Regions from separate parts of the Homo sapiens genome. Here regions 2 and 3 are each linked to region 1. Evidence: promoter capture Hi-C in 16 types of primary human blood cells and fetal thymus (Javierre and others, 2016). All regions are on one chromosome and are shown on one strand. The core of a region is centred on a gene start or on the middle of the fragment in contact, and the rest is flanking DNA. Distances in the headings are between cores, read along the strand shown.

Region 1 (2,678 bases), core at 75-2,574:
TAGATGCAGGAAGATCGATCGATTGTGTGGTGAGGCCAAAGGGAAGAACTCTTCGAATAGTTATTTCATATTCAACAATAAGTGAGAGTTGGCAGGCAAGCAGAGATTGTGTAGGAGTTTTGAGAAGGAAGGTGTGAACAGCCCTCCAAGTGAGTGGGTGAGTGATTTGACCATGGAAACATAGGAGAGTTGCTCAGCAGCACCAAAGGTCGGCTTAATGTTTATGATCATTAAAATGAGTAATGTTAGCATCCTCGTTTGTTTTTTTCCAGTCAAATTCACTTGCTCAAGAGCAGTTCCAGAGTAGGTGGAGAGCTGGGGTTTTTCCTGGCTTGGAGAAAGGAGGGAGAGGGAGCCAAGGCCGTTGAGAGTATACGCACTAAAATGATGGGACATGAATTTATGCTGGGAAAAGAAGGACGTGTAAGAGCAGAGGGATAGGGAAAGGTGAGGAATCTGGTGAAGGTTAAGTAATTACTAGCACTAGGAGGTATGAGCTGGAATGGAAAGGGGAAGTAAAGTGAGCTGTTTGAAACTGACACTACGGAGGGTACACAGTTATGAGTAAGGTCAAGGGTGTGATCCCAGGAATGTGTGGCTGCGCTAGTGTGGGAAAGATCACAGGAGGTTGGAAGCTGAGAGGCTGTATAGTCATTGCAGGAATCATCCATGTGGATATTGAAATCACCATGAATTATGAATGAAGCCAACTGTATTACTGGTTACTATTTTTACCAGACCACTGTACGCGACTTTAGATCCCTCAACTTCCCATTTAGAGCACTTATCACGGCTTGAAATATTAGAGCGATTATTTGGGTTGGGCGCGGATTATTTGACAGTAATCAGGGTTTACAAGTCTGTTTCGTTTCTTGACTGACATACAATTAATACCCAAAAGGCAGAATGGATAGAAGAATACTATTCTATCTGTCATACAGAGAAACTTCAGATGTAATAAATTATAAAGCCAATTAACCCTACAAACAGGATCCACAGCAGTTTCACATTAATGAAAAAGCAAGACTTCAAGAGGGCGGGAGTTTTTGTCTGCTGATCTTCCCGCATCTAAAATAGTGCCTGACACATATTAGGTGCTTTGCAAATATTGAATGAAAGAATACGCCCCATCAGTATCTCACCGCGCCTGCGCTAGATGCCCTAGGTGGGGCCAGCCTTGACGCGCTGCGCCTGCGCAATGTCTCTTTGCGGGGCGCACCGGCAGGCTCCCAGCCCCGCTTCGTCGCAGCGGCTTGGGCCCTCCGGCCCTCCGTAGCCGCTCGACTGTCGCGCTGCACCAGCTTCCTCCTCGGCGTTCCCACGCCTATTTGGGCGGATTCTTGGCGCCGGAGGAAGAGGCAGGGTCACCCTCTCTCCACGTCAGAGACCTGACTGTGGAGATGGCGGCTCAGAAGATAAACGAGGGGCTGGAACACCTCGCCAAAGCAGAGAAATAGTGAGTGAGAACCTTCCGGGGGCCTGTGTGTAGACGCCGGGTCCGTCTCTCACTGGCGCGGCCTTAGCACCCGGGGGGGGCGGGAGGGAGGGCTCAGGGCTGAGGGGCCTCGGCGCGCTGGTGCCCGCAGGGCTGCCGGGGCTCGGTGTCCTCTGGGTCACACTCCCGGGGTCGGGGTCAGCTCTGCGGCGCCTCGGGAAGCGCCGTGGGTCCACCCCGCCGGAAGTCCGCTCCCCAGAGCCGGTGTGGGCGGGGACTCGGCGCAGTGCTGCGGGGCGAGGGCTTCTCTACTTGGGCGCTCTGCTCCTGAAGATTGTGGTGGGGGCTGTCTGTGCATCGGAGGCTCGTTAGCAGCATCCTTGGCCTCTACCTGCTGGGTGCCGGTCGCATCTCTTCCCCATTTGTGGCAACCCAAAATGTCATCTGGGGAACAACATCGCTCTGTTGAGAACCACCGCCCTAGAAGAGCCCCCTGTGTGGAGGGGACCATAGGTTTACCCCAAAAACTCCTCGGTGAACCTTTGTCATCTGGCATTTTACTGTCCCTGTGGGCAGGGACTGTGCTTCGTTCGTCCTTTGATGTGTATGTCCTGCCACCTCTGGTACAGTACGTAGTAGGCACCCTGCAAATGTTTGTGGGACTGAACTGATAATCCTTAATTCATCCTTTTGGCAGCCTCTTCCCCCCGTTTCATTACTCCAGTGCATTTTTATCTGGCAGTTACAGTTAATAGAAAGTCAGCATTGTGGGCCGGGCGCGGTGGCTCACGTCTGCAATCCCAGCACTTTGGGAGGCCGAGGCGGGCGGATCACAAGGTCAGAAGATCCAGACCATCCTGGCTAACACGGTGAAAACCGTCTCTACTAAAAATACAAAAAATTAGCCGGGCGTGGTGGCGGGCGCCTGTAGTCCCAGCTACTCGGGAGCCTGAGGCAGGAGAATGGCCTGAACCCGGAAGGCAGAGCTTGCAGTGAGCCGAGATCGCGCCACTGCACTCCAGCCTGGGCCACAGAGCGAGACTCCGTCTCAAAAAAAAAAAAAAAAAAGAAAAGAAAAAGTCAGCATTGTGCTCTGTGGTGGGTGCTTCACATACATAATTTCATAAGCTGAGATCTTCACAATAACTTTCCAAATAGAGATTCTAATTTTTCGTAAGAGGAAATGAGACTCAGGGAAGCCTCATAACGACTTGCCCCCAACTGCACAGGTGAAAGATCGCAG
Region 2 (2,678 bases), core at 120-2,619, 1.2 Mb before region 1:
AGGTGGGTGGTAGGCATTTACGATTTACCAGCATAAGGGTTTGACACTAGGTCATCATTTCCAAGGGAAGGTGCCCCGCGGACGGTCTGGTCTAGCGGGCTCTAACTTAATCACCCTGGAATCTTCTTTAAAAAGCAAATTCCGGCCGGGCACTATGGTTCACACCTGTCATCCCAACGATTTAGGAGACCGCGGTGGGAGGATCGCTTGAGCCCCGAAATTTGAAACCAGCTTGGGCAACATAGCAAGACCTCCATATCTACAAAAAAATAAAATATTAGCCAGGCGTGGTGGTGCGCGCCCGTAGCCCCAGCTACTCGGGAGGCTGAGGCGGGAGGATTGCTTGAGCCTAGGAGGTGGAGGCTGCAGCGAGCCTGATGTTGTCACTGCCCTCCAGCCTGGTGAGAGTGAGACCTTGTCTCAAAAGAAAAAAAAAAAAAAGCAACCCAGAGTTGTGGGAAAGAACTGAGTGTCATTCTCAATGTTTTTAACCTACGTGCTAACCGCGCACCTTCTACCTAGGCTGCGCGACCTCCGCGCCCGGATCCATGGCGCCCCCTCTTCTCGACTCCCGATGCAGAGCTCCGATGCAGAGCTCAGCGCCAGCCACTCACAAGGAGCCTGGCAAGTTTTATCGAATTGGTGAACGAAGTTCGAAAGCTCTACCCTTGGAGATCCTTATTCAGTAGGTCTGAGGTAGACCTAGGAAACGCGCATTTTATATAAATCCTACCTCTGACGGCAAACGACAAGGGGTTCACGTGCCAGCTCTCCTCGGCGACGCGCTAGGCTACTCAGCGCCCCGAGCCTCGGCCTCGCATCGCTAGAACCCGGCCATGGCCGCTTCCTTACAGGGCAGCTGTGAGGAGTCCTGAGGAATTTTAGTACACGGCATATCCTCAGCGTAGTGGCTAGCACATCACAAGGCTTTAATCTTAACACTGTTGATCTTAACACTGCAACTGAGGGGGCCCGGAGAATGGGCCTGACAGGAGGGTCTGTCGGAACCTGAGGGACTGGGGATCCCGGTGCGGAGAAGCGCGAAGGGAAATCGCGTTGAGCAGCTGGGGTGGGTGCGCCTGGGGGCGTGGCCTGCGGGCCGGCGGGCGGGCGGGAGCCTGCGGTGGAGGCGTGGCACGAGGGAGGGGCGAAACCGGGTGGCGCGGAGGGGGCGTGGCGTTGGGAGGGGCGGGGGGAGTGGGCGGGGCCGAGATGGGGGCGTGCGCGCTGACAGGAGCGCCGGGGGAGTGAGAGACGCCTCCTGGCGGGAGCTGGCGGCTGTGGACCCCAGCGGGGGCGGAGGGGAAGAGGGGAGCAGGGGCGGGGAGCAAGGAGCCGGGAGGAGGGCGGCGGGCGGGCCTGTCTCTTTAAGGTGCCCGAGGCTCGCGGGCGCTGCGCTGAGGGGACGGCGGGAGGCGCGGCCTGGCCTCGCACTCAAAGCCGCCGCAGCGCGCCCCGGGCTCGGCCGACCCGGCGGGGATCTAGGGGTGGGCGACTTCGCGGGACCGTGGCGCATGGTGAGTGGGAGCGGCTGGGGGGTTGTGCAGCCTCTTGGCCTCTTGGTTGGGAAGGGGCCGGGCGCCGAGCTCGGCCCTCTAGAGGCCCGGGGCCGCGGCGAGCTTCGCGGGGGCCGGGAGAAGCCTGGGCCCGGCTGCGCGGAGGACAAAGTGGGGGTGCTGGGCGCGGGCGCACAGGCCGGACGCCGGGAGCCAGCAGCATCTCTGCGCCGCTTTGGTCCAGACCATCTCTGGGCCGGCCCGCGTCCTCCGCAGCCCGCGTCGGCCGAGCCGGGGTGGGGGTGGTTCCGGGTGCCCGGTCCCCCACACCGCTACCGGCCTCTGCCTCGCGGGGCGTCCGGCGCCTTCGGGGCCCTGGCACCGCTCTACAGAGGCTCGGCTCTGCCCTGGTCGCTGTCAGTGCCATCTCCCTTAACGAGAAACTTGGGCGTGATGTATGCGAAACAATTTTGATGCATGATGGTTTCTAACTCCTTAGGAAAAGATAAGTCCTTTAATTCTATTACCTGATTTCGACATGGTCGTAGTTACTTGAATACTTTTTCCAGTGAAATTTGGGGAGTAAGATGAATTTGTGGAACATTTCATAAGACAACCGTAAAAGATGGGAAAGGGGGGAAATCCCAGTTTTCATGGTTGTAGGATGAAAACTAGTTCCACGACAGTTAGTCTCCAAATAACCTTATTTGGCCTCCGCAAATATGTACTGGTTGCTCCAGAAATCATCCTACTTGGTATGCGGCGTTAGATACATTAGAAAATTAGTTACTAACGGTCTTTAGGGAATGCTTTGTGAGCCTCAGTAACGATCACCAGGGTTTTCTCTTTCAAAATTGACTCATACCAGGTCCAAAGCCCTTTATTCTTTTCACCCTTTTATTATTTTTCCTTTAATGTACTTTGTAACACTTAGAATAAAAGTTTAGAGTAATCATAAATGCCCCCATAAACTCACTATTTATCCCTCTTACGTCAGTAGTCATTTATTTTAATTTATTATGTTTGATAGGGAGGTGTTTTAACCTGAAGAAATGATATCTTCCCGTATTTAAAGTTTAATAACTGTATACTGTTTGGCCCCTGTCAGACTGTGTTTGTGCTAGTCTTTTTTCCTTCTTCTTTTTGAACTGTAGTATCTTCTTAATAACTTTGAAGAATGTG
Region 3 (2,678 bases), core at 88-2,587, 1.0 Mb before region 1:
TCCGTGGATGTTCCCGACAGAGGTTTATTCCCGCCTATCCCTACAGGCCCACGGCGCTCTTTCCTCCAATCCCACACCCAGTCGAAGGCGGGGCAGCCGCCCCACCCAGCGGCCAGCCGGGCGGCCCCCAGTCTGGTTTAACTGGTTGGAACGACTAAAGCACGCTGGCGCAAGGAAAGCTCTCAACTTCGGGAGCTGAGGCGCAGGCTGGCCAGAGCGTGGAGAGGAAAGCCCTTTCCATCCTCAAGGCCGTTGCAGGAGATGCCCGCGAGCCACCTTCGCCAGCACCACACCGGGGTAAGCCGTCCGTCCCCGAAACCCGCAAGGCCACCGACTGCGCAGGCGCCTGCAGAGCACTGGCCCTCGGCGCGTTCTCTCGCGCTCTTCTTCAGTCTCCTCAGCGAGCCTGGGGACGAAGGGGGCGCGGTGCCTCCTGGGTGTTGTAGTTTGCTTCCTTGGCGAGAGGCCTTCGGGCTGGCTGGACGCCGGGGCCTTGGGAACTACGCCTCCCAGCGCGCCCCGCGCGAGAGCCCAGGTCGCCTGCCCTTGACGGCTTCAGCCGTCTGAGCGGAGAGGAGGATCCGGGAAGCCGGCTGCGGCGGGAGGAGGGAATGCGCGTGCGCGCTGGACCGCCTCGTCCCGTTCCGTCCCAATCATTGTAAACAGGCAGAGGCTGGGCGGGGTGGGAATGGGGCGCCCGAGGCCGGCCTGGGGCGCAGCGCAGGAGGCGGCTCCGGTGGCTGCGGCGGCAGCGTGAGCGCGAGGAGGCGGAGGCTGCGGCGGGGCGGACGGTCGCGCGGCGGCAGGCACAGGTCAGTCGCAGGGAGCGGTCGCGTGCTAGGGTCGCGGCGATACCCCTGGAGTGCCCGAGGAACCCTCTCCCGCGCCGGCCTCGCGCCCGCGTCTGTCAGGCAGCGTGTGGGGCTCGGTGCTCGCAGCGCTCGGGTTTGAAGTTGGGGGTGGGGGGCGTGGCTGCCCCTGGCGTGGGTTCCTCCCCGGAAAGCTTCGCCCCAGTTTTCGCCCCCCTTGGCCGTGCGTCCCTCCCACTGGCCGACGGGCCTCCCTTCGTGGCGTCCTCGTTTGTGGTGCTCTCGGGGGCCGGGGGTGGAGAGTTAGGAGTCCCCAGGCCTCGGGGAAGCTCTTGGGGGGCGCCTGGACAGAGGCTAGGGGACCCAGCCCTCACGGTTGGTGGATCGTGCCCGGCATAGTGGCCAGGCTCCAGGGCTTACCCAGGGGACCAGGACAGGCTCCTGGTGTCGCCCACCGCTGGCACTGAGCAGTGGGCGCCTTTGGGTGCTGCGATCCTTCCTTCAGGTTTCAGTGGGAATGGACAGACAGATCTGAAGTTGAAAATTCTTTTCACAACTCATGTTCAACTATGTGTGTTGTCAGAATGCTCTTAATGAGGTCAGTGTTCTCCCTCTTTTTTTTAAAACTGATCGTTGTGAGAGTGAAACAGGTTTTACAGAATATTTAACACCTCCGTCTTCCCTGAAGTAATTCTGCTGTTTCAAGTTTTGGGATTCAGTATTACAAAGCCTTCCTCTTGAGCAAGGCCTAGTACAATTCTTCAAGGTCCCTAGCATGTTAATTCGAGGTGTTTTGAACGTGCATATACAGGAAGTGCAGCCGTTTGGCCGTTGAGTTAGTGCTCCATCCAGCCTTGTTAGAAAAGCTTTCGCTGAATTTTTAATTTAGTGGAGTGGTCATGTTCTAATGCTGCAGTACTTTGGGGAGTATTCCATTATACTTGGCAGTTATTAACGAAATACTGAACTTGTGATAAGGTTTTGTTTTGGTGCTCAGCATTTCTAAATGAATAAGTGGGACTGTGAATAAGAAAGATCACCTCACTTTCTGTTTTTAGAGTTATTGTGGTCATTTGATAACTCCTTTCTGTCTTTGTGAAAATAATTACTGTAAGCTGGAGTGGCGGTAGTAGGGGTAGGAAGGAGGTCAGTAGAGTGGTTTCCACCTCTCATTCAAAGTATCTGGTAGATCCAAGTGGGGTAGGTTAGTTAACAGTAGCTTTTTTTTTTTTTTTTTAGTTTTTTATTTTTTGAGACAGAGTTTCGCTCTTGTTGCCCAGGTTGGAGTGCAATGGCATGATCTCAGCTCACCACAGCCTCTGCCTCCTGGGTTCAAACGATTCTGCTGCCTCAGCCTCCTGAGGGGATTACAGGCATGCGCCATCACGCCCGGCTAATTTTATATTTTTAGTAGAGACATTTTCTCCATGTTGGTCAGGCTGGTCTTGAACTCCCGACCTCAGGTGATCTGCCCGCCTAGGCCTCCCAAAGCGCTGGGATTACAGGCGTGTGCCACCGCGCCCTGCCAACAGTAGTAGCTTTTGAGAAGTGACTCTTTAAACAAGGTATCTCGAAACAATGTAATACAACTTAGTTTGCTTTCTCTTCAGGATATTGTTTCTAATTATGGATCTTATCCAGACTATTTCTCCCCTAATTTAGAATAGGAAAGTGGTATCAGAAAGTGCATAATAACTTTAATTTGTACAGTTATATTTGCATAGTTGTTTGCTTGGCAAGAAGAGATCGGGCCCAGCATGTAACCCAAAAGAATATTGTTTCTGTTTTGAAAGATCCCTGATAGAAACTTATGTTAGTTTGTATAAGAGGGTACAAGGAAAAATGCAGATTATTTAGAATACAGGAATT

Evidence for each region. The method cuts DNA at HindIII sites, captures the fragments that hold promoters and counts their contacts. A CHiCAGO score of 5 or more calls a contact.
Region 2: a contact is called between the fragment with the promoter of TWSG1 here and the fragment with the promoter of NAPG in region 1, in 4 of 17 cell types (non-activated CD4 T cells, fetal thymus, total CD8 T cells and 1 more). The highest score is 10.8, in non-activated CD4 T cells.
Region 3: a contact is called between a fragment that was not itself captured here and the fragment with the promoter of NAPG in region 1, in 1 of 17 cell types (activated CD4 T cells). The highest score is 6.6, in activated CD4 T cells.

The regions. Positions count from the first base shown.
Region 1 is chr18:10,524,703-10,527,380 of GRCh38, forward strand. NAPG (NSF attachment protein gamma) reads left to right here and starts at 1,325. Exons shown (of 12, transcript NM_003826.3): 1 at 1,325-1,456. The coding sequence starts at 1,401. RefSeq lists a silencer at 1,468-1,717. The HindIII fragment of the contact is 5,497 bases long and covers 1-2,678 here.
Region 2 is chr18:9,333,404-9,336,081 of GRCh38, forward strand. It overlaps TWSG1 (twisted gastrulation BMP signaling modulator 1), which reads left to right and starts at 1,370. Exons shown (of 5, transcript NM_020648.6): 1 at 1,370-1,517. It overlaps TWSG1-DT (TWSG1 divergent transcript), which reads right to left and starts at 1,066. Exons shown (of 3, transcript NR_183523.1): 1 at 734-1,066. RefSeq lists a silencer at 1,071-1,860 and enhancers at 1,658-2,158, 1,921-1,970. The HindIII fragment of the contact is 11,774 bases long and covers 1-2,678 here.
Region 3 is chr18:9,474,880-9,477,557 of GRCh38, forward strand. RALBP1 (ralA binding protein 1) reads left to right here and starts at 634. Exons shown (of 10, transcript NM_006788.4): 1 at 634-812. RefSeq lists a silencer at 565-974 and enhancers at 598-1,466, 1,205-1,264. The HindIII fragment of the contact is 672 bases long and covers 1,002-1,673 here.